7 separate regions of the Homo sapiens genome follow, and all the other regions are linked to region 1. The links are contacts of gene promoters, found by promoter capture Hi-C in blood cells and fetal thymus (Javierre and others, 2016). All regions are on one chromosome and are shown on one strand. Each heading gives the region's core, a stretch centred on a gene start or on the middle of the fragment in contact. The rest is flanking DNA. Distances are from core to core; before and after follow the strand shown. Region 1 holds the start of WSCD1 (WSC domain containing 1). Region 2 has its middle 110 kb from the start of AIPL1. Region 3 has its middle 130 kb from the start of AIPL1. Region 4 has its middle 150 kb from the start of AIPL1. Region 5 overlaps LOC339166 (a long non-coding RNA gene). Region 6 has its middle 170 kb from the start of AIPL1. Region 7 overlaps LOC339166 (a long non-coding RNA gene).

The links. Contacts are between HindIII fragments. The CHiCAGO score rates a contact against its expected background, and 5 or more counts as called.
Region 2: a fragment that was not itself captured here is called in contact with the fragment with the promoter of WSCD1 in region 1 in 6 of 17 cell types (endothelial precursors, M0 macrophages, M2 macrophages and 3 more); the score reaches 9.3 in endothelial precursors.
Region 3: a contact is called between a fragment that was not itself captured here and the fragment with the promoter of WSCD1 in region 1, in 1 of 17 cell types (M1 macrophages). The highest score is 5.3, in M1 macrophages.
Region 4: a fragment that was not itself captured here is called in contact with the fragment with the promoter of WSCD1 in region 1 in 1 of 17 cell types (endothelial precursors); the score reaches 7.3 in endothelial precursors.
Region 5: a fragment that was not itself captured here is called in contact with the fragment with the promoter of WSCD1 in region 1 in 1 of 17 cell types (endothelial precursors); the score reaches 5.3 in endothelial precursors.
Region 6: a fragment that was not itself captured here is called in contact with the fragment with the promoter of WSCD1 in region 1 in 3 of 17 cell types (endothelial precursors, M0 macrophages and M1 macrophages); the score reaches 6.3 in endothelial precursors.
Region 7: a contact is called between a fragment that was not itself captured here and the fragment with the promoter of WSCD1 in region 1, in 1 of 17 cell types (endothelial precursors). The highest score is 5.7, in endothelial precursors.

Annotation. Positions count from the first base shown.
Region 1 is chr17:6,067,946-6,072,225 of GRCh38, reverse strand. It overlaps WSCD1 (WSC domain containing 1), which reads right to left and starts at 1,847. Exons shown (of 9, transcript NM_015253.2): 1 at 1,574-1,847. RefSeq lists an enhancer at 1,780-2,611. The HindIII fragment of the contact is 6,207 bases long and covers 1-4,280 here.
Region 2 is chr17:6,318,872-6,323,151 of GRCh38, reverse strand. It overlaps the pseudogene BTF3P14. Among named protein-coding and RNA genes, the nearest start is that of AIPL1, 110 kb to the left of the region's middle. The HindIII fragment of the contact is 869 bases long and covers 1,298-2,166 here.
Region 3 is chr17:6,301,934-6,306,213 of GRCh38, reverse strand. No RefSeq gene overlaps it. Among named protein-coding and RNA genes, the nearest start is that of AIPL1, 130 kb to the left of the region's middle. The HindIII fragment of the contact is 3,528 bases long and covers 641-4,168 here.
Region 4 is chr17:6,281,079-6,285,358 of GRCh38, reverse strand. No RefSeq gene overlaps it. Among named protein-coding and RNA genes, the nearest start is that of AIPL1, 150 kb to the left of the region's middle. The HindIII fragment of the contact is 2,510 bases long and covers 1,244-3,753 here.
Region 5 is chr17:5,858,845-5,863,124 of GRCh38, reverse strand. The region is part of intron 2 of LOC339166 (a long non-coding RNA gene); the gene reads right to left. Among named protein-coding and RNA genes, the nearest start is that of WSCD1, 210 kb to the left of the region's middle. The HindIII fragment of the contact is 2,878 bases long and covers 409-3,286 here.
Region 6 is chr17:6,258,796-6,263,075 of GRCh38, reverse strand. No RefSeq gene overlaps it. Among named protein-coding and RNA genes, the nearest start is that of AIPL1, 170 kb to the left of the region's middle. RefSeq lists a silencer at 2,853-3,147. The HindIII fragment of the contact is 2,591 bases long and covers 1,252-3,842 here.
Region 7 is chr17:5,877,306-5,881,585 of GRCh38, reverse strand. All of the region lies in intron 2 of LOC339166 (a long non-coding RNA gene), which reads right to left. Among named protein-coding and RNA genes, the nearest start is that of WSCD1, 190 kb to the left of the region's middle. The HindIII fragment of the contact is 4,098 bases long and covers 1-3,891 here.

The DNA.
Region 1 (4,280 bases), core at 598-3,097:
GAGTCTGGCCTTCTGCCTTATCCCAGCTTCTCTTCACTTCCAACCAGACATGCCACAGGCCACAGGGCAGTACCCCATAGGGCACAATGCCCACTGAAGAGAGGGATCCCCTCACCCCAGAAGAAGGCATTTTTACAGAGGAGCTGTGGAAATGGCCCTGCTGAGGCCTGGAGGATGCAGCCACAGGTGAGAGCCTTCTGGCGGAGAAGATGAGGCAGTCAGGCTCAGCCACCAGCCCAACCACCGCCAAGCCTCCTTCAGATCCCATGCCTGGGAGAGCTCCTGCTCTTCCTCCTAGAAACCCTGAGCTCTGGCAGCCGGTTGAGGCCCCTTCCCGGAGGATCTCCTGAGGGCCAATCTAAGTGTGTGGGGGTGGGGGCATGATTGAGAGAGACAAACCTCATTCTCCCATAGCCCAAGGAAACCTCCCCTAGCTCTCTCCCCAGCACCTGCAGCCACCAGGAGTGGGTGATTGCAAACAGCGCAGGGCAAGCCAGCTTTATATCTCCTGTAACTTTCACTCCCCACCACCCTCACTTTCTGTGCCTGACAACCTAGGCAAATCAGAGGAAAAAAGAAAGGCCCCCACTCCTGATGCCAAAGTGGGATAAACCAAGTGCCTCCATAAACCTAAGCATGCTGTTCCAGCAACAAGAGGGATGCGGGTATCTCATGTTAGAAAAGTACAGCGGAGTCCTGCATCTGTCCATCTTGGGAGCTGCAGGGGCAGGGCCAGTGTGGGGAGCAGCTGGATCCCAGTGCAGGGCTATGAGGCTAGAACTCCTATATGAGCCTTCCCACTGCTCAGCGGAAGGAAGAGCGGTCCCCTTCCCCACCCGCATTCCCGATCAGCAGAGCAGGCATCATCCCAGGCGCACAAATGCTCAGGAAAACCACCAGCGAGGTTACCCGGAGGCAGGGGACCCAGCCAGGTACGTACGCTCCTGAGTAGCCAAGAAAAACGCAATTTAGCAACCTTCAGTCGTGAGTCTCCGTCCACACCTACGAAGACGCAAAGCTCTACACTAGGTAATTTTCTGGACAAAATACATACGTTTTGCTTTTGCCTCTGCCTCTGTTCAAGTTCACCAAGAGACGGAGCAAACCCTCCGCTGACCGGAAGCCTCTCTTGGTAGCGGAACGAGAGGGAGCTGCTTCTGGGTAAACGTCGCCGCCTAGGAGGGAAGCTGTGCGCACCCCACACCCTGCCCTCGCCCCCTCCCCGGGACCAACCGCAGCGCCCTCCCGGGTGACGGACGGGCTCTCAGGACTCCGGAGGGGGACGCGGCTCGTGCGGCGCCTCGCGCACCCCCACCCCATCCCGGCCGCGCCGAGCGCCGCCCCCGCCCCCCCACAACCCCTGCACGCACCCGCTCACTCTCCCCTGCCCCGGCCGAGCCGCCCCGGGCCCCCGGGAAGGTGCCCCCGGCAAGCCCGCCCTGCAGCCGGAGCAGGTGCAGCCCCGCCGCGCTCCCAACCGCGTCTGCACAAACTTGTTTGCCCGCGGCAAGGGGAACACCCTGCTCGCAGCCCGCGCGGGGGTCCGGCTGGAGCGCCGAGAGACAGGACTCACCCCGCGATCGCGGCCGGCTGGGGCGCCCGCACCCGCGCCCATGGCCCGCCTTCCCCGGGCGCCGAGCCCGCAGCCCCCCGCAGTGCCCGGAGCCCAGAAGCCCCGGCGCCCGCACGTCTCCGGCCGCCCGCGGCAAGCGGACCCACGCGCCCGGGCACAGGGCGCCGCCGCCTGGCTCCCCGGGGCTGCTGGCGTCCGGGCTGAACGGCGGGGCGGGCGGGCGGGCGCGGAGCCGGGGCGGGCAGCGGGCGGGCGAGCGGGCGCCGGGCTCTGCACATGCTCACTCGCGCGGCCCGGGGACAGCGGCCGGCCGCCGCCGGGTCCTAGAGGCGCCGGTGCGCACCTCCCGCCGCCCGGGGGAGGGGTCGCGGCTCCGCCGGAGGGGGCCCACGCCCTGCCCCGGCCCGCGAGAACACGCGCGCGGGGCGGGCCACACGCGCCACTGCCGAGCAGAGACGCCGCCACCCACTCTGATACACACACACACACACACACACACCAGTCACCCAGAGCCACAGCCTTTCACCGGGGCCCCACGGGCTCTAACACACGCACCATGACGCTCACACCCAGACACAGACCCACAAACACACGGGGCACTGCCGCGCAGAGGAGAGCACGCCGCCACTCTCCCATGCAGACTCACAGCGACAGCCGCACACTGCCTGACACACACATCCCGAATCACTGCTTCCCAGAGACACCGACACCCACACTCACACACACACTCTCTGGGCTCTGCCCCACTCACCCAGAAGCAGACTGGGCCACTGTGACAGGCACGCACACGTACACACACAGCCACACAGTTTAGAGTGCACTCTAATACACACACACACCACACACGCACGCACACACACACACACACACACACACACCGGATCACCGTCCCATGCAGAGCTAGAGACAGACGGTCACAGCTTCACACACATTCACACTCAGAAACAAGCACCTGCTGGAACACAGACACTCTCACACAATCTGAGACAGACCTACACAGAATTGCAGCCCTACAAATACCCTGACACCAGCTCCCGCGTCTACACACTCGGGGGTCGGCCGCCGGCTTATCATACTGCTCCACACCGCACACAGTGACAAACCCACGCCTTGACATAGTTGCCCACAGAAGCAATGTCACACACTGGTGTCTACTAACAGACACACTCTCAGAGGGGCATACTGGGCATTGACCCACAGGCTCTCTCTCTCTCTCTCTCTCTCACACACACACACACACACACACACACACACACACACACGCACCGAGGTGGAAAGAGGCTGAACAGTCACACAAGTCTATACACAATCCCCCTCTTTAAATAAAGGCTGGATCCAAACCTAAAGATTTTTCCCAGGGAGGAGCCCCACCCTGTTCCCCCAAAGCCGCCAAGTCACAGCATCTGCCCTGCTCTGCCATGTGCACCGGTGGACCCTGTCCTCACCCGGAGCTGGCTGCTAAGATGCTCCCAGAAGCTGAGGACAGCAGAGGCAGCAGGAGCAGGTGGTGGTGCCTCTTACTCCGTCTTCCTAAAAGGGAGTTTCATGCCTCCGACTCCCGCTAGGGGCAGAGCTGCTTGGCCTGGCTCCGAGGAGCTGGCTTGCAACAGGTGCAGGTGGCAGGGAAAGCGTTTGCCTGGGGACCAGTCACAGTCCCTCCTTACGCGGGTCAGTCAGGTGGCGCCCAGAGCGGGAAGAGACTCGCTGCAGTTTGCATAGCTATGTCTGGCCAAGTGCAGAATTAGAACAGAGTCTGCACCATCCGCATGAAGGCAGAATGCTCTGAAGGTCTTGGGGCACCTGGATTTAATATCCTTAAGCCCAGGAAGAGGATACAGTAAGTGAGAGACGAATTCTGTGCTGCCTCAGAGTCCCAACCTTGCAGAAAAGCCCCCTTCACATATATATCCTTTACAGAATGTGAATGTGTGTGTCGTTACGATTTATAACAGCAACCCACTGTGCAGTCTCGCAATGCTGTTTGGTTTGCAAAGCCCTCTCCATGACCAGCTACATAATTTGAAGGGCCTAAAATAAAAATGGAGCCCCCTTTTAAAACACTATCAAGAATTTCGAGAGATAAAAGGAGGATATTAAACCAGTACGGGTCCCTTCTGAGCACAGAATTCAGAGCCTTTCACAGATCTCATACCCATGAAGCCAGCCCTGGCCCTCTCGTACCCATTGTCCCACTTAAAACTGATAAGTCTATAGATGCCTTCATGTGCCCATTTGACAGATGAGGCTTTCAGGTGGGTGATCACAAAAGGCTCACAGCCAGTTGAGCCCAGGGGAATTCAAGCCCAGCTCCTCTGGGAAGCCAGACATTTCCCGGCAGCTGCTATTCAGAAGTGTCCATCTGCAGCAGCAGACACTTGGTACAGAATAATCAAGCAGAAGAGTTGATGTGGCTGCCACCAGGGAAGGAGGTGACTCAAGAAGAAAAAGCAAAAGGCTGCTGGGTATCCATGCCATCTGTGCTCGATGTCACGCTGCACCTGCCCTGCAAAGCACCCCACCAGGGGAACACCATACAGCCCCTGTGTGGGTAGAAGCTAGAGTCAACTACTGACTCTAGGGAGGGAGGTTGAGGAAGGAGGCGCATGAAAGAACCCAGGAAGTAATTGAGAAGGGCTTGGGAGTCAACACGGCCAGGAGTATTTCAGTGTCAGGACAAAGCCCTTCTTTCTAGTGATGGTGACCAGTA
Region 2 (4,280 bases), core at 483-2,982, 250 kb before region 1:
TTGTAGAAAGAAGAAGGTGGTTCACAGAACAGCTACAGCAGATGATTAAAAAAACTTCAGCTCTTAAACAAGTTAGGGGCCGGCACAGCGGCTCACACCTGCAATCCCAGCACTTTGGGAGGCAGAGGTGGGTGGATCACCTGAGGTCAGGAGTTCCGGACCAGCTTGGCTAACATGATGAAACCCCGTCTCTACTAAAAAAAAAAATACAAAAAATTAGCCAGGCATGGTGGCAGGCACCTGTAATCTCAGCTACCCGGGAGGCTGAAGCAGGAGAATTTCTTGAACCTGGGAGGCAGAGGGTAGGGCTGCAGTGAGCCAAGATCGCACCATTGCACTCCATCCTGGGTGACAGAGCAAGACTCCATCTCAAAAAAAAAGAAGAAGAAGAAGTTAGGGGCAAACAATATCTGGTATTGAAGAGGTGAATACATTTACAAGTTAAAGTAGATCAAGGAACAGTGATCCGCTTTAACAATCCTAAAGTTCAGGCATCTTTGGCAGCAAACACTTCTTTCACCATTGCAGGCCATGCTGAGACACAGCAGCTGATGGAAACGCTACCCAGCATCTTAAGCCGGTGAGATGCAGACAGTCTGGCTAGTTTGGGAAGATGGGCTGAAGCTCTGCCCAAACAGTCTGTGGATGAAAAAGCACCATTTGCTACTGGAGAGGATGATGATGAAGTTCCAGCTCTTGCAGAGAATTTTGATGAGGCTTCCAAGAATGAGGCAAACCGAATTAAGCCAACTTCTGAAGAAGATAAAACCTGCAGAAATTACTGGGAGCTGCTATATTACATTAGGACTGCTTTTTTTTTTTTTTTTTTTTGACAGAATCTCACTCTTGTCGCCCAGGCTGGAGTGCAATGGTGCGATCTTAGCTCACTGCAACCTCCACCTCCTGGGTTCAAGCAATTATCTTGCCTCAGCCTCCCAAGTAGCTGACATTACAGGTGCCCACCACCACGCCCAGCTAATTTTTTTGTGTTTTTAATAGAGATGGGGTTTTACCATGTTGGCCAGGCTGGTCTCGAACTCCTGACTGCAGGGGATCCACCCATCTCAGCCTCCCAAGGTGCTGGGATTACAGGAGTGAGCCACTGCGCCTGGCCTTGACTGCTTTATAAAGTTGATATATGGATCTGGTAAAATCTAGATCTCTAATATTTTTAAGCCCAAGCCCCTTGGACACTGCAGCTTTTTGCTTACATACAATTCATTTTTGCTTATATACAATTCATTACTTGTAGGTAATTAAGCTGAAGAAGCCTGGAAATAAGGTTTGAAACAAAGCTTAATGAGGTTATTTGACTACTTGAAAGAAAAAAAAAAGAATTGTAGAGTTTCTAGAGTGAGTGGGCTTAAGGCAGGAGAGGGAGGAGGAGGCTCTTGGTGGGAGTGAGGAATGAGTCCCAGAAGATGGGAGAATCTGGGACTTCTGGAGAAAGTTTTCAAATTTCCTTCTCTGATTTTGCTTTCACCGAACCCAGAACCCAGGAGCCAGCAAGAGTTAGTGGGCAGTGCTCACAGAATTCACATACCCTTTTCTCTCGAGACCACATGCAAGGGTACTCTGGGTTTGGCACTTGCCAGGAAACTGGAAATCTTCCTCTTGAGCTTCATCATTCTTGGCAGGTTTTGAGTTCTAAATGAGCCAAATCTATCTAGCCCCTTTAGTGAAAAAAATGAGCTTTAACCGTGAGGGAAGTTGCCTTGGTGGTCCAACCACCAGACTTTCCCAGTGGAAGAACACGCCAGACTCTGTCAGTGGACAACCCTCCTGGGAAGTGGACCCGTTCTTCAGGCCATAACTCAGGGGGTCTCAAGTCCCTGCAGCAGCACACAAGACTCCTTATGGATCCCGAAGTTCCACAATGGCAGTTGTCTTTGCTCCCCCACCATTACTCCATCATTTCGTTAACTTTTTCTGAATTCTCAAGGCCAGAATTACATGGTTCAAATTGTCCCTTTCATCATATTTCCATCTTCCTGGTCTAATTCTGCTGAATGCTTTCTAGGCATACTGTATGGCTGCCATCCAAGGGCTTTGCTTTAGTGAATCCACTCTCTCTTGCGTCCTTTCCTAGTTTTTTGATTTACTTCCTTGTCTATCCAGAGCATACCCTCAAGTCACTTTTTAAAAAGGTACATGGGAAGTAAAGCTTCTGAGTCTTTGCTGTCCGAAAATGCCTTTATATTATCTTGGCATTCAATATAGACTATAGAATTTTAGAGTAAAAATTATTTTCCATCAGCACCTTGGTGGCATTTTCCCATTACCTTCTGGTGTTCAATGAGGCTGACAAAAAGTTTCTGATGCCAGGTTGACTTTGTTCTTTTGGGGGTGAACTTTTCTCTCTTTTTGTAAGTTTTATCTTCAGAACAGAGGTCAGCAAATTTTCTTCTGTAAAGGGCCAGATAGCAAATAGTTTAGACTTTGCAGGCATGTGGTTTCTGTTCTAACTGCTCAGCTCTGCTGTTGTAACATGAAAGCAGCCATAGGCAATACATAAACAAACAGACATAACCATTTCCAATAAAACTTTATTGACAAAAACAAGTGGTGGGCCAGATTTGGTTCATGAATTTAGTTTGCCAACCTCTCTGCTTTAGAAGGTCAAAGGGCATTCTTTTTATGCTTGACATTTTAAATTTTTCCAATGAACTGTCTATATATTATTCTTTATTCATTGACTATGCTTGAACACTTAGTGAAACTTCCAACACTGATATTCATGTCCTTTAGCTTTGATAAGTTTCTTAGTTTCTTACTTTTCTAAATGTATATATATACACTTTAATATATATAAAGTATATATTAAAGTGTATATATATATATATATATATATATATACACTTTAATATATATATATTTTAGGTATCCAATACCTGTTGAACCTCCCAGATTTATTCAGTATATCTTTTTTCTTCTCTCTCTCATTGTTTTCATCTCTTTTTGTTGTTGTTTTTATGTTTTTCTGAACTATTGCTTTTGACTTTTTAAAACAATCCTTTTACACATGTAAAAAATTTTGGCCATATATTTTTTAATTTTAACCGTTCCTTTTTGTCTTCTAATTGTTTCTGTTTTATAGAATCATTTTATTGTATAATGGATGCAACATCTTCTGGATTCTTCCTGAAGATACCAGAGGTTTTTTGTTTTTTTCTAATTGTCTTATATTTCCTGAATTGTCTCTAATCCCTTAGGGGTCAGTATTTTCCTTTATTATTGTTGAGTTATTCTCTTTTCTACTGCAAGTTGTTTTCCTTTAAAAATATCTGGTGTCCTGGTTGACAATTTGCATTTAAATTAAGGAATATAGAGTTGCTTCGGTAGCCTATGAGTATGAGGAGACCTTGTTAAATTGTGGAATTTGCTCTAAAATGTTGGTAAAGGAGCTGGCTTTAGAGATGGAAGACCCCTAAATACCAGAATATGGAGGTCTGTTTTCCTGGAGTGTGGTTGTTTTAAAACATGTCCACAGATTCTGGGGGATGCTCCCCTTCAGGAGAAGGAGCTTCATTCCACTTTCCTTGAGTAAGGATTGGGCTTAGTGACTTGATTCTGCTGAGTAGAATATGGCCAACGTGACTATGTGTGACTTCCAAGATTTGGTCATCAAAGGCAACTATTTCTTCTTTGTTGTCCCCCTTGGGGGAAGTCAGCTGCCATGCCATGAGGACACTCAAGGAACCCTGTGGAAAGGTTCATGTGGTAAGGAGCTGAGGCCTCCAGGCAACAGCCCTACGAGTGTGCCATCTAGAAAATGGATCATCCAGCCCCAGTTAAGTCTGTTTGTTTATGTATTGCCTATGGCTGCTTTCATGCTACAACAGCAGAGCTGAGCAGTTAGAACAGAAACCACATTCCTGCAAAGTCTAAACTATCTGCTATCTGGCCCTTTACTTAAGCCAAATAGTTAAGACTTTGTGGCCATGTGGTTTCTGTTCTAACTGCTCAGCTCTGCTATTGTAGCATAAAAGTAGCCATAGATAGTACATGAACAAATGCACATGGCCATGTTGGAAAACTTCAACCCTGGACGACATCTCAACTTCAGCCTTATGAGAAACCTTGAGCCAGAACCATCCAGCTAAGCTACTCTCAAATTCCTCATCCACAGAAATTGTAAGATAATAAATATATGTTGCTGTAAGTCACTATGTTTGGGGACATTTGTCATGCAGCAATAGATAACTAATACATGGACTATCAACTTTTTTGAGATTGACCCTTCGATATTTTACTCAGATAGCTCTATGTAGCTGCTAGGA
Region 3 (4,280 bases), core at 1,155-3,654, 230 kb before region 1:
CTAGGTGGCTTGAAACAGCAGGTATGAACAGATGGCAGTGGCTTCTCAGCATCCTGTGTTCCTGGGGTGAGTCCAGCCACAGAGAGAGAGGGGATTCACAGTAGCCACCAGGTGAACAGTGCCATCAAAACTCTGAACTGTGTCTCAGCAATGGCCTGGGGGCCCAGCCGAGAGGAGATGTTCACCAGGAAACTTGCCCAGCGTGGAACTCAGTGGCCTCCACCTCAGTAATCGAAAGCACATTCTAAATACATCTCTCAGTGACTCCTGCCTCGTGGTTGTTTGGTGCATGATTGGACAGATGGAGAGGTGGGCTCCCCAGTGGGTCTGGAGCGTGGGCTTCAGAGAGTGCTAATGTTTCTCAGATCTCCTCTGCAAAGTGCCAACTGTGGAAACACTGAAGCTCAGGCCAGGAAATGGAAACACACTGCCAGGTGGCAGGATGGGCTGCTTCTTAATTAAGGAGCCTCCCCAGCTCGCGGGTGACGGGTGTGGTTTGTAAATAGTTTATGCACCTGTTACATCCACGTGTTGCGGGACTGCTCCTGGGCTTTGTCCAAGTGGGGTCCAGGCCTCCTTCGCCAGAACAATAGTAGAAATAATATGTGGTCTTTATGGAACATTTATAGTCTACCAAGCTTTGTGCAGTGTGAGCCCCTTTACCTGCATTATCTCATCGAATCCTCCTAGCAACCCTAGAGGTAGATGTGTTATTAAGCTCATTTTATATGTGGGAAGCTGACAGCAAAAGGTTAAGCAAACAGCTCAAGCTCACAGAGCTGGTGGGAGAGTGAGTCAGAACTCAAACTTGTAATTAGACAAACCTGAATTTGGAGCCTCAGTTCATCATGTGTGAAACAGGGTAATTCTATCTACCTCACAGGATACTGTAGGGATGAAAGAAAAGTATGTGGACAAAAATCTACCAGCTTGGAATGTGTCATTGAGTGACAATTTGGTAAATGTTTGAATGCCTATTGTGAAGGCTAATTTTATGTGTCAACTTCACTAGGACATGGTGCCCATATATTTGATCAAATACTATTGCATGTGTTCCTGAAAAGGTATTAACACTTAAATCAGTAGACATGGAGTAAAGCAGATCGACTACCCTCCATAATGTGGGTGGGCCTTATCCAATCAGGTGAAGACCTTAATAGAAAAAGAGCGACCTTTTTCTGTTAAGAATAGAAAGCACTATGCTGGAATAAGAGTGAATTCTTCCAGCACAATAGTACCATAGTGCCTTTGGACCAGAACTGCAGCTCTTCCAGCACAGTAGTGCCTTTGGACCAGAACTCCAGGCTCTCTGTGTACCCTGAAGATTTGCAGCTTATCAAGTATCTACAATCATGTGAGCCAACTCCTCAAAAATATTTTCTCTCTCTCTCTCTCTCTCTCTATATATATATATATACACACACACACACATACATATGTGTATGTATGTATCTCTCTCTGTCTCTCTCTCTTTCTATATTATATATATATACACACACACACACACACACACACACACACACACACACACACACATTCTATTGATTCTGTTTCTCTGGAGAATCCTGACTGAAACACCTATGAATACAACTATGAATAAGAGAATGTTTTAATAATATATGGTTTACCTGTATGGTATAATATGCAATTGTTAAAAAGAACAACTTATGCCTATGTATTTTTAGAGGAGAAGAAAACCAGAACACGTGTGTGTGTGTGTGTGTGTGTGTGAGTCTCTATGTTTCCCTGTGAGCATAGAGAAATATGTGAAAGGATACATGCCTGAGGGATGATGGTGGTGGTTGTGGAAGTCTTATTGGGGTAGGGAAGGATATTCACTTTTTCTTTCTACACTCGATTGTTTGATTTTAGCATATGTTATTTGTGTCGCTAAAAGGATAATAAAGTAGATAAGTGTGAACATTTTGTTGATTTAAAATTGTCCTCTTCTGTGACTGGAGGCGGTGGGGACAGCATAGCACAAGTCTGTCTGTATCTATTTGTTTTGTGCTGATCTATATTGAGAATATACCCTATCTGGAGGGAGTTGACTGGTGGTGCCTTGAGGCTGCTTTGATTAATACCGCCTCACCTACACAGTACCCTGGCCTATGTAAGTATCTGAGTCCAGCTGTGATTTTAAAGGAATCTCCTTCCACAATTCCTGACCTTGGTTTTCGGGGGTCTGGACAAGTTTGATGGCCCATCGGGTGCAGTTAGGGCAGCCAAGCGTTGCTCTTCCATTGCTGAAAGGTATTAATGCTTAAACCCTCCACCCTCATCTCTGGGATATGTCAACAAACAGCACCAAGCAGGGACTAGGTGCTGGGTGCTGTCCCGGGTGCTGAAAAGTCAAAGAGGGCCAGATTTCCACTCACTATCAACTTTGACTGAAGGTTTACTAGGCAGAGTCATTCTGGAAGCCCAGACAAGTGGGAGCATCTGATCAGAGTGGCCTGGCTTTTGGAATGTGGCCAATTGGACATTATCAGGGAAATGTCAAGCGACTTGAACTTCTTGCCTTCCATCCTTTTGTAGGGTCAGCTGCTCACAATTGGAATTGACTGTTGGCTTGACTGACTTAGTTGAATCAATGTGTGCTTTGTTCCTTCTGCCAACACCAATCTCCCACCTCCATATCCATAGAAGAGCAGGGTCTTTCTCACCTAAGATTATAGAGGATGCCAAAAGGAAGTGAGAGCCCCCCAACACCTTCTCAAGCCAGCCACCTTGAAGCAATTCATTCCAACAAACGTTCACCTGAAAAACAATTTGCAATTGCCAATTGCAGGCAAGACTCTGCCCTGGGACCAAGTGTGATGAAGGTCAGATATTTCTGGCAAATAGAGGATTCTAAAGTACATAAAAATGAAGAAGGGCCTCTCCATGAAGTGCACATCAAGACCACCTGGGAGGATGGAAAAATGCAGGTACTTGCACTCTTTTTAAAATCCCAGGGGAAAAGCACTGTGATAGTGCTGTGGGATGAGTGTTTGTTCTATTAGTCATTCCCTATGTCTGAAATGTTGGATGCAAAACAAGGAGGGATGAGAGAAGAGACTGAAGACACTAGCCATGTCACAGTGGGGCTGGCAATCTGCAGACCCAGCTGCAGTGGTTGCCAAGGTGTCTCCTTTCACATTCCACATCTTGTCTGTATCTTGGTGAAGAGCTGATGAGAGGGTGACAATAACCAGCTCGTGTAATTATCACCCCTGTCTTAGTGAAGATGGGCTGTGTTTGGATAATAGCAGGAGTCCTGAGCGGCAGCTAGAAGCCACAGGTGGTTGAGATGCAGATCAAGTTCTGAGCCATCACTGGCTTTAGGGATGATGCATGCTGGAACCAGTACTTGTCCATCCTTGAGTGTGGAGAGAGAGGAGGCTGTCAGTCAAATCTGCAGCTGGGGTCTGCAGCATGCAGGGAAAGAGCAATGCCTGGGCATCAGGAGACCAGGGCATTTAGCCTTAGCTCTGACAGTAACTTGCCATGAATTGGGCGAAATGACTCCTCCCCACTTCCCCATCTCTGAGCTCTTTTTAAACTTGAGTAGGTGATTCCAAATGAGCTTTTATGTTCCCTCCTTATTTTGACAGTTTGTGATCCTCTAAACTTCTGATATCAAGATATAGCCAAACAGAAACAAACCAAATCATTATATCTAAGGAACATTAGTTATATAAATTTTTAAATTACAAAAGTAATATCTGCTCATTATAAATATTCAACTGACACAGAATAAAAAGCAAAATCCCTTATCTCCCCATACTATTTCCCAAAAGCAACAACTGCTAATAGTTTGGGGACGTTCTTTCCTCAGCTTTTACTATGATGTCTCTATTTTTTAAATTGTGAACTTTACCACTGAACTCCAAAATTTAAATAGTAGGAGACTAGACTGACTCTGAATAAAGACTTAGAAGCTACGAACTGGAACTCTTCTCTCCCATTCTGCACAGATGTGGGTCAGTGAGGCAGAGCTGGGATTATGTGGCATTGTTAGGAGGAGCACCAGTGGCGGGAAATCTTTATCTTTAGTCGTAACAAAGGCTCTGGGCTGGGTGGAAAGATCTGGAAGTGCCCACCATATTCCCTTTCACAAAGGTGTTGATTGTGCCTTACACTCCATTAGGCTGGAAATTGCACTTGCTTGTTAATTTCTTAAGCTTCAAAACTTTTCACCCTGGCCTCAGGCTCTCTGCACAGTTTGCTAAAGAAATGCTGTCAATTCACCTCATTTGGTCTGCTTATGGCTGATGACTGGTTTGCTCAGGTTTTTG
Region 4 (4,280 bases), core at 1,249-3,748, 210 kb before region 1:
CCCAGTCAACCCAGAGAGTCATGAGAAATAATAAATCATCACGGTTTAAAGCAAATCAGTTCTGGACTGTTTGTGATGCAGCTATTCATAGGTAACTGAACCTGGAGCCACTGCTGAAACTGAGATGCCAGGACACCTTCCCCGTTAGCATCTCCTTCAATAAATAGAATACACGTTAGGCGCGACTCTGGGAACAGGTATTGATATCGGTGTCATTGTTAATAGTTGATATTATCAAGACCTGTGTTCCCATTCTGGCCTTGTCAATTAGTGGACTCATCTTTTTTAGCCTAATGTTTTTCATCTGTGATATGGGAACTTCTTCCATTCTTACATGGGATTGTGGTAAGAATTAGAGGAAATATACTAAACATGGTGTGGGTGTAAATCAAAGACATTTTGGTTGGTTATTCACCTTCTCGACAATGGGGAGCCACAGCAGGTTTTAGAGGAAGGGAGGGCCGACATCCAGGCTACTTGTCACTTTAGTTTTCCCTGAGTGATTTGACAGGCTCACAAACATGTCCTGGAGCAACAGGCAGGGAAGAGAGAGGTGATGTGAGAGAGGACAGAGGTCCTTGGGCTCCTCCCCTCTGCTGGGGACGCTGGTGAGCATTTGGTTAAATTCTGGAGAGCACTTTTCACTACAAAATGGGTCTGCAGTCTCTTGGTGGATGAGTCCTAGTTCTCCAGCCTCTCCCAGGAAGCAGGCTTCTGCCTTTGGGCACATTTCCTAACCCATTATGGTAGAAGTGTTCAGCCAAGGTTCTCACTGCATGCAGGTGTCCAAGAGATGGATGCCCAAAGCACCTCGCCTGAGCCTCACTTCCCAGGCCCCAAACCTAATGGCTGTAACTGAGGCCCTGCAGGCACAGCTCTAGTGGCCAGGATGATGCTCGAGTGTCCTGCTGCAATGATGCTGCAAGATACTAATAACTGAGGTTGGAAGTTTGCAGGACCAGGGCCTACACCCTGCATGAGGCTGACAGAGCAGGAGTATTGCCATCTTGGACAAGCACTGTCATTTTAAGTCCACCTTGATCAAAAACTGCCTAAATCCAAAAGATATCAGCCTAATGGCTAAGGTCAGCAGGACCATAAACCACAAATCACATCTCCAACCAGAAACATTTCAAACCCCTCCCCAACCAGAGACATGCCAGCCCTGAGATAACTCCCCTCTGACCAGAGACATTCCAACCCCGCCATAAAACTTCTCCCTAACACAGAAATATTCCAAGCTTGTGATAAGCCCCCTCACCCTAAAACCAATATATACTCTTAGTCTGTAAGAGACAATGCTCCTGACCGAAATTGGCCAGAAGCCCCTCTCAGATTTATTTCTCTAAAATAAACCTGTCTTTGACTGTTGAGGCACACTTCGAGTTTCTTTCCTCTTTCTTTAACTCTTACAAAGGCTCTCTCTTCTCCTAGGCTGGGGCCAGCAGCTGTTCCTTTGCTTGTTCAGGAAGTAGCTCCAAGGCCACATAACTTCTCTCTGAGTGAGTAGGTAGATTCAGGGCACAAGGTCAGCACTTTAGGGGAGCTGCTAGCAGAAGGGATCCTGGGAGTAGGGGGCAGGGGCAGGGCAAAGAGCCCTTGGACAAGAGTCTGAAAACTTTGGTTTGGGTCCTTTCGGTTGCTTGCTCATGGTATGACCTTGGGAAAGTCACTTCTCTTTTTGGAGCCTCAGTTTTCTCATCTGCAAATTGGGAATGAACATGCTGCTCTGCCAGTCCTCACAGTGGGGCTATTGTGAGGACTGTTGAGATAATGGGACTGGTGAGGCACTACTTTTCCTCTGTACTTTCTTAGCTGAGGGACTTGAGCTGGTCGATACAGCTCTCAGCTTCTTAGTTCCTTTATCTGTGAAATGGGCACAATAAAATGTTGTGGTTTTTTTTTTTTTTTTTTTTGCTGGTTTGTCATGAGGTTTTTTTTGTTTTGTTTTGTTTTGTTTGTTTGTTTGTTTTGAGATGGAGTCTCGCTCTGTCACCCAGGCTGGAGTGCAGTTGTGCCATCTTGGCTCACTGCAAGCTCCGCCTCCCAGATTCATGCCATTCTCCTGCCTCAGCCTCCGGAGTAGCTGGGACTACAGGCACGCACCACCGTGCTTGGCTAATTTTTTTGTATTTTTATTAGAGACGGGGTTTCAACATGTTAGCCAGGATGGTCTCCATCTCCTGACCTTGTGATACACCTGCCTTGGCCTCCCAAAGTGCTGGGATTACAGGCGTGAGCCACTGCACCCGGCCTGTCATGAGGTTTAAAGGATCCTTTAGCTTCAAATGACAAAAACCATCTCTAATGAGTTTGAGCAACAAGGAAAATTGTTGTAATCAGCAGGGGTTTTTGGCACCTTCCAGACCACCCCACCCTTGATGTGACTTGGCTCCAAAACTCTCTGTTCAACATTTAAAGCTCACCTGGGGTCAAATGTTCCTGTCTGGACCAATGGGCTCTAGCCAGGAAGACAGAGTCAGGCCAAAGACACATGGCTTCTGTGAATCTACCCGCATGGCAGGGTAGACAGCCGTGTGCTGCTCATCTCCCAGAGCTCTGTGGACCAGTGCCTGGTGGCCTGCAGAGAATGGTGGTGGCCACTATCACCACGGTGACTGTTATGATAAAGAAAGGAGAGCCCAAAGTTATTCCCATCCTGAGGCTGCCCTCCAGAGGAGTTGTAGGGGCCTTTGGTGACAGTTCCAGGTATCTGTTTCTCCTCCATTGTCCAGGCCCTTGTCCTGCAGTCTCACAGCCAGGTCCTAAGGGCAGCTTGTGGTTTACTCAAGGTTCTCAGGGACATAGGACACTGACAGTCCACCTCTATGCTTATTTGCAGCACATGGGAGAGGCTGGAGAGGGGCACACCTCACAGGCGCAGTATATATCAGTCTGTAAGGCACTGTATCAGATCTTCATTCATTTTGATTTTGTTCCTCAGGCATTTTTAACTTTCACTAGTGATTAAAACTTTGAACCTTCCCAATGCCACAAAACCATTACAAGACAAGGCCAAGACTTTAACACACACCTTTTGATTCCTGATTCCCAGGCCAGGGTTCGGAGGTAGAAGTTGCTTGTCTGGTCAGAGAGAGAAGGCTCACATATGCAACAGCTGCAAAACTCCAAAGGATTGCTGCTCATTTATCCCCATACTTTCTCTGCTGCCTGTCCCTCCCTGCATCTATTCAGCCTTCCATTTACCCATCTATCTATCTATCCATCCATCCATCCATCCATCCAGTCATCCATCCATTCATCACAAAATTAGACCATCTGACCCTGTGCTGAGAAATCAGGAGAGAAAGATGAATCAGTGTGGTCTCTGCTATCAAGGAGATGCACAGGTGAACAGACAAATCAGAGCACAGGATAGAGTCACAAGCTGATAGAGGGTGGCACTGAGGCAGAGGAAGAACATGGAAGCCTGGAAGGATTGATGGAAGAGGTAACACTTTGTGCTGGAGGCATCGAAGAGCCACTAAAGTGTTTTAAGAACGGAAGCTGATATGGTCAACTTTGTGTTTTATGGTGGGAGAAGGAACAGGACGAATTGGGGTAGGATATGGTGAACTCTACTATTGTGCTTAACCATTCACTCCCTCTTCCTGTAAGCAGGCTATATTTCCTTACCCATTCCTCTATGACTTGCAATGTTTCCATAGGTATTTGATGCCAGGCTGATCTTGTGATCTGTTTTGGCCAATTAAATGAGAGTAGAGTGACATACACCAATTCTGACCAGAAGCTTTAAAAGGCTGTGTTAGTTATCTACTGCTGCATAATGAATTACCCTTAAACATAGTGGCCCAACACAATAAATATTTATTATCTCACACAGTTTCTCTGGGAAAGGAGTCTAGGAGGAGCATTGCCGGTTGGTTCTGGCTCAGTCACCCTTGAGGTTTCAGCCAAGATATCAGTTGGGCCACAGTCATCCGAAGACTTGACTGGGGCTGGAGGATCTGCTTCCAAGGTGGCTCCCTCACATAGCCAGTAGTGCTGGCTGTTGGCAGGAGGCCTCCGTCCCTCACCACAACGTCTCCTCCATAAAGATGCCGAGTGTCCTAGTGACATGGCAGCTGGCCTGCCCCAGAGCAGTGCTCCAAGATCCAAGAATGAGCCACAGTGCTTTTATGACCTATTTTCAGAGACTACACACCAGCAGTTCTGCTATGGGCTGGTAATTATAAGTGGGTCACTAACTCCAACTTATACTCAAGGGGAGGAGAATTAAACTCCACCTCTCGAAGCAAGGAGTATAAAAACATTTGTAA
Region 5 (4,280 bases), core at 598-3,097, 210 kb after region 1:
AGAGAGAAGAAAGAAAGAAAGACAGAAAGAAAGACAGAAAGAAAGAAAGAAAGAAAGAAAAAGAAAGAAAGAAAGAAAGAAAGAAAGAAAGAAAGAAAGAAAGAAAGAAAGAGAGAAAGAAAAGAGAAACAAAAGAAAGAAAGACCAGCCAAACGGCATGACCATGAAACAGATGAAAGAGGAGCACAGACCCAGGAGCTTGGGAGCCCTCATATTTTAAGCCATGCAAAGTTTATCATGTCAGTCCTGCTTCACCCAAGCCTGGACTCTTGCCACAGAATGACAGAAAATCTGGACTGAGGGGGCCATAGGGATCATCTTGTTCAGCTTCCCATTTCCACCCTGAGAAAACTGAAACCTGAAAGGGTTGATTCTCCCAGGCCCCCCAAAGAAATGGCATAATAAGCTTTTCTAAAATTACAGAAGAAATCACTGGGCCCAGAGTTTGAAAGAATGCTGAAGGAAATCTAAATTTCTCAAGCTGTTGGTTTAAGGAACCTGATGAACATGTGGGCTTAGGGGAAGAATTCTGCTTCTTAACAGCACCACCTGGCATCATTGAAAGATTTCCATTTGACTAGAAGAAGCAGTAGCTTCCAGGCACCCTTGCTGGTGATTTTGCACAGTTATGCATTTTCTCTCAATTCTTTGATTTAAAAGAATCTTGTACTTCCCAGCTGGCAATGTTCTTGGGACCTGTAGTTTATAACAAAGGTCATCTTTTGACCAAACACATTTGGCATTTATAATGACTGGGCTGTGACCTGACTTTAGCTGCTGCTGGTGAAATTTCAGCCTGTATGTAACCTGCAGGCAGACGGCTCTGACCTGGAGATCCACAGACCACTGAGGAGTCATGCTGCCGACGGTACAAAATTGCTCCAAACAGGCCACTGCTGCTCGGCCTGCAGGAGGTTATGTCTGTACATAAGGGTGCAGAATGCCATTCCAACATGGGGAAAGTCTCTTTCAAGGGGGTGTGTTATCCAGAACCTATTTGCATGAAGATGTTCAGGAAATATAGGAGCACGCTGCATCCCCTGGCACCTGGTGACTGGTGAGTCACAGCTGACACAGGGGGAGCCAATCCATTGGCTTGGCTGGGCTATCCAGAGTCTTCCTCCTACAAGTTTTAAATTAATATACACTGTAATCGGTCTCTGAAGAATTATGAATTGGGAGGTCATGGAAAGCCAGGGCCCAGGTAACCACATCTGAGCCATCCGTAAGCAGAATAGAAAAGATCAGGCTGAAGATAGAAGAATGAAAAGTTCCAGCACTTTGGGAGGCCGAGGCAGGCAGATCACGAGATCAGGAGACTGAGACCAGCCTGGCCAGCATGGTGAAACCCAAAAATTAATACATGGTGAAATACAAAATTTAGCTGGGCATGGTGGCGTGTGCCTGTTATCCCAGGTACTCGGGAGGCTGAGGCAGCAGAATAGCTTGAACCAGGGAGTCAGATGTTGCGGTGAGCCAAGATTGCGCCACTGCATTCTAGCCTGGCAACAGAGCGAGATTCCGTCTCAAAAAAAAATTAAGAAAAAAAAAAGAATGAAAAGGTGCTCACATACAGAAAAAAAAAAATAGAAATAAGAGGCCATCAGGCAATGAGGCAGATGGCAGCCTTGTATCCTGATGGCTTTCCTGCTGAGTACCAGGCCTTAAAGGTCCACTGCCGTTCAGCCCTTGGGTTCTGTGACACATCCAGCCAATCAAGCCCTGTCTTTTGCTTAAGCTATGCCAAGGAACTTTTTACTGTTCATTGAATTTAACAAGTACATTATGCAATAATCACATTGCTGAGTTTCTATCATGGACCTCTCTCCCTTTGGAAGATAAGCCCTTTGCAAATGAATTAGGTCATACCATTGGAAGGGAGGTCAACAGTGTTCTCAAGATTTCAACAAGACCTTGAGATACTGGAAGAAGAGGAAGGTCCAGAGGGACAAGGGATTGGCTACCAAAGATATGATCCTCAGAAATGCTGGGCTGGCCCTCAACCCAGTGCTATGACAGTGATTGGGGTCAGCAAAAACAAAGGGCAACTTCTGTGTTGTAGGCTGGGGTGTTTTGTGGGGTGGGGAGGTGAGGAGACATGTAGGACAGACTCCTACTGCTTTGGTGATGAATTCAAAAATGTATTAGGAGAGCTTAATCAACACAGTCATTCTTACAGTTAATAGGTCTAAAAAATCCAGATTAAAAGGACAAAGAAGGAATTTAGACTCCTCAGATGGAAATGCATGGATGTTATATTTCTCTCTCCTTGGCTCACTCCTTCCCCAGCTGCCTAAGCATAACCCATGTCCATCTCCACCATAGGGTTATAAGACCCTCACCTCCCAGTGATGACTTCAGGCCCCGACTCAACGCATCAAGGTCTTTCCAACCAGCCTCAGCCTCAGCCTTGTTAATATCATGCAGGGGTGGCCAGGCACTGTGGCTCATGCCTGTAATCCCAGCACTTTGGGAGGCCGAGGCAGACAGATTGCCTGAGATCAGGAGTTCGAGACCAGTCTGGCCAACGTGGTGAAACCCCATCTCTACTAAAAATACAAAAAAATTAGCCGGACATAGTGGCATGCACCTGTAATCCCAGCTACTCGGAAGGCTGAGGCAGGGGAATTGCTTGAACCAGGGAGGTAGAAGTTGCAGTGAGCCAAGATCACGCCACTGCACTCCAGCCTGGGAGACAGAGCGAGACTCTGTCCCGAAAAAAAAAAAAAATCATGTGGGGGTAATAATAATAATAATAGGAAAAATGGAAACCTGTAGGAAAATATAATTACTCTATACTCTAGGCCAATGACTTACCATGCATCTTTTATTCAATCCTCATAGCAATTGTGGAAAGTAGAGGCAATTGTTATCCCTCATTTACAGCTAAAGAAAAAGAGGCTCAAAGGAGAGGCTCAAAAGAGGCTCAAAAGAGGCACGAGAATCGCTTAAACCCGGGAGACAGAGGTTGTAGTGAACTGAGATCATGCCATTGCACTCCAGCCTGGGCAACAGAGTGAGACTCCATCTCAAATTATATATATACTGTACAGCCGTCATTTTCCATGGCCACTATTAGGATCTAAAGGGGTTGAAGCAAGTCAGAAATAAACCAAATGCATAATTGAAACCTACAAGGTCTACAGGCCACAGGGAGAGTCCTCTGAAGGGGCCTTGACTTTAGGTTTGCACGCCCTGTGATTGTCCCTGGGGAGGCCAGAACTGGGCTGTTCCCACCAGCAGTACCAAGCCCGCAGAGCAGAAATGCACACTGGGAATGGAAGCTTCCAGCCTGTCCCAAGATGACAAAAGAGCCCCCACACTTCCGCACTTGTCATGCCAATCAACGCAGAATGGCCAGGAGGAGGGGAACATTGCCCTGAGTGCTATCAGCACTTCTGGTTTTGCCTTACTGATGAGTGTGTTGGGGAAATCCAGCCAAAGCCCCACTGCTTGCTCTTCTTTCCAGTTTTGCAGCCCTGGCCCCACTGCCCTTCCGCCTCCCACTTGGTTGCAGCTTAACCCCTTTTCCAGTCACTGAGTTGCTCAAATATCCTCCACTGAAAACCCAGGCTTCAGTAGCAGCATTGGCACCTCCTGGGGCAGCCTCTTCTCTCCCAGATCTTGGGACACTCCATCGCCCTCAACTCTGATTCCCCTAATAAGGATGCCAAGATCCAAGAACACTCGGAAAGAATGCGTCTCTCATGGTCACGGGATGCAAGACTCCAGTTCACTGGCCAGGAGGAGGTCCAGGAACCCCAGGGCAGCTCTGCCATTGGCTCTAATGATGGTGCTGGGGACTCATCAGGACAAAAGGTCTCTTCCAAGCCCTAGGTTTGCTCAAATCCCCTGTGTCCGAGTGGTCTTTTCTACCACTTAGTATTTTCAAAAACATTATCACCAGATAAAAAAATAAACAAAAAAATATTAGGGGAAAATCTTTCCCAAGCAGTGAAATAAGACCAATGAAACATAAAAAAATTGTCAGGGGAAATAAGCCTGCCACTCCTGCAGATAAATCTCACCCAAACTGTTCAAGTTGGACAACTTCCATAAGCCTGTGTGTCCTTCCCAATATCGCTTGGTTCTGAGTCTCAGATCATAAAGGTCAATAAAAGCCTCAATTGGAAATCTCACCCCTCCCAGAATAATGATTCTCAGGTTCACAGACAGCCCCATGGCTGGACAGCAGTGTTGGGCCCAAAACATCTCAGCAAAAGGTTAGACTTTGCAAGCCCGATGGTCTTTGCATCTCTAGCACTTAGCACATAGTAGAT
Region 6 (4,280 bases), core at 1,298-3,797, 190 kb before region 1:
ACGATGAGCTGAGATCGCGCCACTGCACTCTAGCCTGGCAACAGAGTGAGACTCCCTCTCAAAAAAAAAAAAAAAAAAAAAAGCATCTTCAATGACCCTATTTCCAAGTAAGCTCACATTTTGAGGTACTGGGGTTTAGAATTTTAACATGTAAATTTTCAGAAGGATGCAATTCCACCCACAACACCTGGCTTCTGTTACCCTTAGTGTTTACTTAACAATCCTCCTCAGTGTGATCGAACTTCCATCTCACTGCCTCCTTCTTCCCCACACAGGACTCTCTTTTCCTGCTTGGGCTCTGACCCTGTGTGGATGCTGCTGTTTCCCTACCTGAGCTCTGACACCCCCACCAGTCACTCATCTGCAGGGATGACCATCTCTCTCACTTGGGCTTGGGCTCCCCAAACAGGGCTGCCCCCATCACGGGGCTCAGGATCTGACATGCATCAGGCCACTCACCCCTCGTAGGAATGTCCTCAGCCAGTCTGGTGCTGTCACCTCTGCCAGGATGCCTCTGCAGTGGCACCCTCCTCCCCCTGCGTAGGTGCTGATATTCCACACCGTCTTCCTCCCACCACATAGATGACCTCCTCACCCTGTTGATGCCCTGACACCCTTTGCTGGGGAGCCTCCCAGTACCATCACTGTCCTGGCCTCAGCTCTGGGCCATGATGGCTGCCCTCCCTTCACTGCAGAGGCTTCTCTTCCCGTGCTACACCTAACGGCTTTAGGACTGAATGTCAGGAAGGAAGGGCATAGGAGAAGGCAAAGGAGGGGGAAGGTGAGGAGCAGGAAGAATAGGAATTCGTGCTTCAACAAACTCTCTGGATAATTCTTATGCAGGCTAAAGCACACAACTTGGTGGCCAGTAGGCGGTGGGAGATAGCACAGGCTGGGGCTGGAGACTGGGCAGGGGCCAGATCTTGGAGGGTCTTGTGGGCCTTAGTAAGGAGGCTCTTATTTTATTTATTTTCTTTTTTTTATTATGATACTTTACGTTCTAGGGTACATGTGCACAACGTGCAGGTTTGTTACATATGTATACATGTGCCATGTTGGTGTGCTGCACCCACTAACTTGTCATTTACATTAGAAATATCTCCTAATGCTATCCCTCCCCCCTCCCCCCTCCCCCCACCCCACAACAGGCCCCGGTGTGTGATGTTCCCCACCCTGTGTCCAAGTGTTCTCATTGTTCAATTCCCACCTTTATTTTATTTATTGTTTAAAGAGAACTGACAAAAACAAGCTTATCTGGGGGAAGAAATGCCACTGTGAACAATATGAATTAGCTTCAAGTCTCTCCTCCCAAAAACAGGAGTCGTCTGTTACCAAGCGAATCACCACCCCTCCCCTCCACTGTCCTTCCCTTCAGCGTCTAGCATGCCTAAGCCTCTCCATTCTAACACCACGGAAGCACTTTCTGATCAGTCTGCTGCTTGCAGCTCTGACTCTCTCTCCCTGTCTTTCCTTTCCCAGCCATGTCTCTTGCAAGCGTTTCTAGATTCTTCATTGTCCTGTCCTAAAATCCTATTCACACCTCGACCCCCATGCAGTGTGGCTTCCACTCAGTTTTGTTTTTATTTTATGTGCCTTGAGAATAAGGGCTTTAAGAAGATGAACATGACTTATGTTTTGAAAAGATCCTTCTGGCTACTTTGCAGGGAATGGATTTGAAAAGCCAAGAGAGGAAGCAGGTTGCTCAGTAAGAGGCTGCTGCATCACCAGCTGAGAGAGGATGTTGGTATGGACAGAGTGGCAACATGGGACCTGGAGAAAAGAAGGCAGACTGGGGATATATTTGGAAGGGCTGGCAGGGCCTTCTGGGGTCGATGGAGGGATAAAGGAAGGAGAGCAGTCACGGATGACATGGGGGGGGTCTTGGCCTGAAGAGTTGGGTGGACGGCAGTGGCAGGAGAGGACTCAAAGAGGAACAAATTTGGGGAAGCAGGTTTCTGGGAACCCTGTTTGGGTCATACTTTGAGACCCTTATCTACATGATGATATCAAGTAGGCAGGTTAGATATATCGAATTGGGGTTTAGAGAAGGGGTCAGGGCTGAAGATCCAAATCCACACGTTGAATTCAAAGTCATCAGCAACTGCCTCCTGGAGGAGCCTCTACAAGTGTTAGCTTTGAAAAATGACTTCACTGTGACGTGGTAAGGGAGGCTGGGAACAAGGTCACGGGAGTCATGGACACACCGGCTTCATGGCGTCCATCAGGGAGGGGTTGTCAGCCAGCTGCAAGTCACCACCCCCTCCTCTCCATGGTTCTTCCCTTCAGCATTTAGCATGCCTAAGTCTCTCCATTCTAATGCCACGGAAGAACTTTCTGATCAGTCTGCCTTCTGCAGGCAGCTGGAGGTGGACAGCTGCAGGTCACCACTTCCCAACACTGACCTGACACTGACTTGCAGAATGGAAGAAGAGCCGACATCCTCGCATGTATTTGTTTCCAGGACAGCCGCTCAAAGGTGGGACCACTGCCAGGCCTATCAGTTCAACCCCTAAATTGAAGAAGGAAGTTTTCTCCAGCTTGATGGTAAGTTCAAGACCTGACTCGGAGCCCCAGGCAGTTCCCGTCACTCTCTAATTCAGAGATTCTGCCATACTATGCCATTAGTGGCCACCTCCATAAGCACAGGGCACTTCAGAGTTTACATATCATGCTGACATCCATGACCCCATCTAATCTTCACACCAGCTCTTGGAGGGTTGGAGAGATTTTTTTTAAGACTTATTTTACAGATGAGGAAACTAAGGCTCAGAGGTTAAGCCATTTGTCCAAGATCACACATTCGGAACATAGTCGAGTCAGGACTTCAAACCAGGACTGTCTGCTTCTAAAATCTTAACAAACCCTCTGCCTCTATTACAGTTCATGGCCTACTACCTTGGTCGCTGCTAAGATGTGAGAGCTCCTTGCTGGCAACGCTTCCTCAAGAAGCCAGCCAGGTGCTACTTTCTCCCCAGCCTTGGGTCTTCCCCTTGCTGAGAGATCGCATTCTTTTGTAACTACCTGGCTCACCTGCGGCTTCATTGTCTCCTGTTTTTTTTTTTTGAGATGGAGTCTTGCTATGTCACCCAGGCTGGAGTGCAGCGGCGTGATCTCGGCTCACTGCAACCTCCGCCTCCCGGGTTCAAGCAATTCTCCTGCCTCAGCCTCCTGAGTAGCTGGGATTACAGGCACCTGCCACCACGCCCAGATAATTTTTGTATTTTTAGTAGAGACGGCGTTTTGCCATCTTGGCCAAGCTAGTCTCGAACTCCTGACCTCATGATCCACCTGCCTCGGCCTCCCAAAGTGCTGGGAATATAGGTGTGAGCCACCGTGCCTGGTCCCTGGTCTGTCTTTAACCACTCTCTGCTAGTAAGAGCCGGATCCCTCATTCCACAACTTTGGCTAGTTACTCACAATTCCTTCAGTCTCACCTCCCCAGGGCTTCCTGAGCACTCCAATATGTCCACCTGACCTCTTTCAGGGAGGTCTCCCTGATTTCTCTGGCCTCCTGCCCTTCTCCAGGGGTCTTCAGACTGCAGTAGCTCTGATCTCCTCTCCCTCATCTGTCGTGTGCCTATGGCACATGTTACTCTACCAAGCCATACAACATGGGATTATTCACACATGGTCCCATCCATAGCAACTCTTCTGACCACAGTTACCTCCATCTCAGTGTCTTCAAGGTCCAATTCAACATCCCTCCTTAATCCAGGGGAATAGATTCATCTTTCTCTGATTCAGCAGAAGCAAATCAATCAAATATGGACTATAAGTTGCAGACACTCATGGGACCTCAAAGGTCCCCTACTTCTACCTTCTATCTTATGCTATATTAAGCTTGCCCAACCTGAGGCCTGCAGTCCAGATGGCTTTGAATGTGACCCAACACACATTTGTTAAGTCTCTTAAAACATCATGAGATTTTTTTTTTTTTGAGACAGAGTCTCACACTGTTGCCCAGGCTGGAGTGCAGTGCTGTGATCTCAGCTCACTGCAACCTCCGCCTCCCGGGTTCAAGCGATTCTCCTGCCTCAGCCTCCCAAGTAGCTGGGATTACAGGCGCCCGCCACCATGCCCAGCTAATTTTTTGTATTTTTACAAAATACAGAGATGCCGTTTCATCATGTTGGCCAGGCTGGTCTCAAACTCCTGACCTCGTGATCCGCCCACCTTGGCCTCCCAAAGTGCTGAGATTACAGGCATGAGCCACTGCATCAGGCCCATTATGAGATTTTTTTTGTGATTTCTTTTTTGTGTGATTTTTTTTAGCTCATCAG
Region 7 (4,280 bases), core at 593-3,092, 190 kb after region 1:
ATTTTGACAACTTTTTCCCCGAGTAACTAATTTTTCTATAATTATATTAGCTTTATGATTGATTTTTATATATATAAGAAGGGACACTTTTAGCTTTATAACTTCTTTATAAGAACCAAACCAGGCCGGGCACGGTGGCTCACGCCTGTAATCCCAGCACTTTGGGAGGTCGAGGCAGGCAGATCACTTGAGGTCGGGAGTTCGAGACCAGCCTGACCAACATGGAGAAACCCTGTCTCTACTAAAAATACAAAATTAGCCGGGCATAGTGGTGCATGCCTGTAATCCCAGCTACTTGGGAGGCTGAGGCAGGAGAATTGCTTGAACCCGGGAGGCGAAGGTTGTGGTGAGCTGAGATCACACCATTGCACTCCAACCTGGGCAACAAGAGCGAGATTCCATCTCAAAAAAAAAAAAAAAAAAAAAAGAAGAAGAACTAAATCAGAATGATAAAGACTCATGACTACATGCCATAAATGATTCAGGATCTGGGAGTACTAATTCTGGAGAGGAGCAGACTAAGGGGGTCTTGATTACCATTCTTCAGCACTTGACTGTCATTTGCAGGAAAAATTAGCCTTACTCCGTGTACTACCAGGGAGCAGAAAGAAGACGGATAGGGAAATGTCTCTCTCTTTGTTCAGCATAAGGAAAGACTACAAGAGTAATACTTTCCAATACCTAATAGCCTGGGCTGCCTGGAAGGTGGGGAGCGCCCCTTCACTGGAGGTATTCAAGCCGAGGTCAGAGCTGCAGTTCTCTGATAACAAGGAGGTTGGAAGAAGGCGGAAGAAACCCAAAAGGAAGCAGAAATAGCATGAAAGGGATGATTGGGAACGGGTCAGAAGCCCTCATGGGGCCGAGGCCTTTCCTGCAGTTTTCTATAGCTGGGGCCACTCCTCATCCCTGATGGGTTTCATAAAGGAGACTATATATGGGGAAATTCCCCAAGCTGTAGTGAATGTCATAGAACACAGGAGCCAGAAGACTCTAGAGATCATGTAGGCTGCATCCCCATCACCTCTGAAGACACGGAGATTCAGACAGGCCCAGTATGTGCTGGGGATGCACAGCAGGTCTGTTTAGAGCTGTTTAGAGCGGGGCAAAGGTGTGCTGCCTCCCAGGCCACTCTGCCCTTTGCTAAAGAGCCTGCCAGGGTGGCCAGACTCCCACTCCGGCCCTGCACCACAGTACATGTCTGTTTACCTCCAGAAACAAGAAGAAACTCACAAAGGTTGTGATCCCACCTGGGAAACAAGAACAGAAGCATCAGGGGTCAGAATATAAAGATGAAAGCGATTCCAGTCTGACTTTCTCACTTGGTTCCCTGTATCACACACACACATGCGCGCACGTGCGTGCATGCACACACACACACACACACACACACACACACACACACACACACACACTTGCTTTTCTGGGAAGAAATTAATGACCCCTGGGCCGTTCATTGCTCTTTTACTTGGTGACAAAAACCACTAGTGATCATTCTGGTTTCATACAAAATTAATATTTGATTGAAGGTGATATTTGTTTGGAAATAATGAAATGTCTGTCCAAGCCCAGGCACCACACTGCCCGAAGTGAGAGCGGAATACACCCCATTTCATATTTCATTCAAAGGAAATGCCATCCTGTAATGAAAACAATCGTGTCTATGTCACTGGGCCGGAGTGAGGAAGCCGCAGTGAGGAAGGTGCAGTATTTCCCCAGGAAACACGGGGAAAAGCCGATCAATAAAATCCATCAGACTCACTGCGTTCTGTAAAGCACTTTCTGTATTCATTTATCCCGGACTTGGGAGTAATTATGTCAGGATCTTTTTCCCAAGGACTCTAGGAAAGCAAAGCAACTTTCCACCCAATTCTCTTTCATGAAAGGCTTTGCTTTCTTCGAATGCGTGTTTGCTGTTTATTTCAGCCTCCCAGGCAGCCAAGGGACCGTTCAGGACAAGTTTCTCATCAGCAACAGGTGTCTTATTACTACAGTGGCTCATCGTTAGTGGAACCCCCAGCTTCTGGCTGCAGGAAGTACAGGAAAAATTTGCAAAGGAGGTTACTCTAGCCTTTCTGAAAGTCATGGCCGAGAGCTGATTTCCTATCTCTATTGAGGAGTGGAGGAAGGTGGCCCATTCCTAACGCACTGAAGGGTGAGAGTGGCCTCAGCAGAGACACCTGTTCTTTAAAAAAATGTTTTGAGGCCAGACTCGGTGGCTCACACCTGTAATCCCAACATTTTGGGAGACCGAGGCAGGTGGATCACGAGGTCAGGAGTTCAAGACCAGCCTGACCATCATGGTGAAACCCTGTCTCTACTAAAAATACAAAATTAGCCAGGCATGGTGGCATGCTCCTGTAATCCCAGCTACTCAGGAGGCTGAGGCAGGAGAATCGCTTGAACCTGGGAGGCAGAGGTTGCAGGGAGCCGAGATCGTGCTGTTGCCCTCCAGCCTGGGTGACAGAGCGAGACCCCATCTCAAAAAAAAAATGTTTTGAGATAATTGTAGATCCACATATAGTTGTAAGAAATAATACAGAGAGATGCCTGCACACTTTGTCCAGTTCCGCTCATTATAACATTTCGCAAAACTAAACAATAATATCACAATTAGCGTATCGACATTGGTGTAGTCCCCCTAACTTATTCAGATTTCCCTAGTTTTGCTTCTCATTTTGTCTGCATGGATTGAGTTCTGTACAATGTTATCGCCTGTGTAGCTTCATGTATATAACACCACCATCAAGATACTGAGTCATGTCTTTCCTCTCATGACCCTTTTAAAACCATCATTTATTTCCCTGTCCCACGCTCCAGCCGGATGCTGAGCTCCTGGGCCGTCGGAACCATCCTATCTGCAGGTGGCACGTGGCACAAAGCCTGAATCACAGCGAGGGCCCAGTTGTTTGAGTGTCCCCTGTCTGAAATGCTTGGGGCCAGAAGTGGAATATTTGCGTTACACTTATCTTCCTTATCTGGAAGTCCGAACTCCAAAACACTCCAATGAGCAATTCTTCTAGCGTGGGGGCCTCAAAAAGTTTCAGATTTTGAAGCATTTCTGATTTCGTATTTTCAGATTAGGGATACTCAACCTGGGCTTGCTTGTTGAGTAATTAACCTCAGCTTGCTGGTCCATGCAACGGGCACATGACTTACCTCTACTGATGCCCACGCCTGGTTCCAGTGCTGGTTTGGTAACTCTGGGGGAATCCCTGAACCTCTCTGTGCATTTCTGGTCCCTCCAACCCCCCGTCTGCTCAGTTGGTGGCAGAGGCCATGCAGACGTCTTGCCCTGACAGCCGGTGGTGCTGCAGGAGGAATAAGCAATCTGAGTCTCGGAGAATTCAGGCCATGTCAGCAGCTGGAACCCAGTCTAGGACCATGGCCAGGCTTGGTCTGGAAGAGAATGCTGTTTTGTTAGCTTTGCTGGCTGACATGGCCCTCGTCCAGGTGGGACTGACCCTGTGACTCTGCCCTCGTAAGCATCATGTTCCAACTTCTGAACTGACTGGGAGCTCACTGCTAAGGTCGTTTCAGTACATCCCGAATCTGTGCATGGCCCGATTACACTTCCAAACAGAGGGTTTCCCTCAGAAACCAGGCCAGTGCTTCCTTTGACAGGGGCTGAGGGCGATTCATCTCTGGGTCCCTCCCAAGCCTCACACACAGGTCACATTTTTTAATCAAGTGGAATGAGATGTCTCTCCATACCCAGGCCAGGGGTTCATTGCAGCCAAACACAATGAAGGGAGTTGGCATTTCCTGCATCTGCAGGCTCACAAATAATTGGACCCCACAGTCAAGCCCTTTGATCTCCTGTCATGTGTCAGGGTGAAGAAGGGAGGACTTGACTGTAAATGATACCAACATAGCCCCCACTCTCATGAAGCTTATAGTCTAGAAGGAAGAGTGATAAGAATAGAAGCAATGAGATCATCAGGGGAGTACGGGATGCTGTAGCATATAAAGGAAAGGCCCCCAACTCAATCTTGGCAGATCCTGGAAGGCTTCCTGGAGGAAGTGGCACCCAAGATGAAACATAAAGGATGAGTGAGATTAGGCAGATGATAAGGTAGAAGGGGAGGGGGATAAAAGTGCTCCATTAAAAGGCCCAAAGAGGCTGGGTGTGGAGGCTCACACCTGTAATCCCAGTACTTTGGGAGGCTGAGGCAGGCAGATCACTTGAGGTCAGGAGTTTGAGACCAGCCTGATCAACATGGTGAAACCCCATCTGTACTAAAAATGCAAACGTTAGCTCGGCGTGGTGGTGGGCACCTATA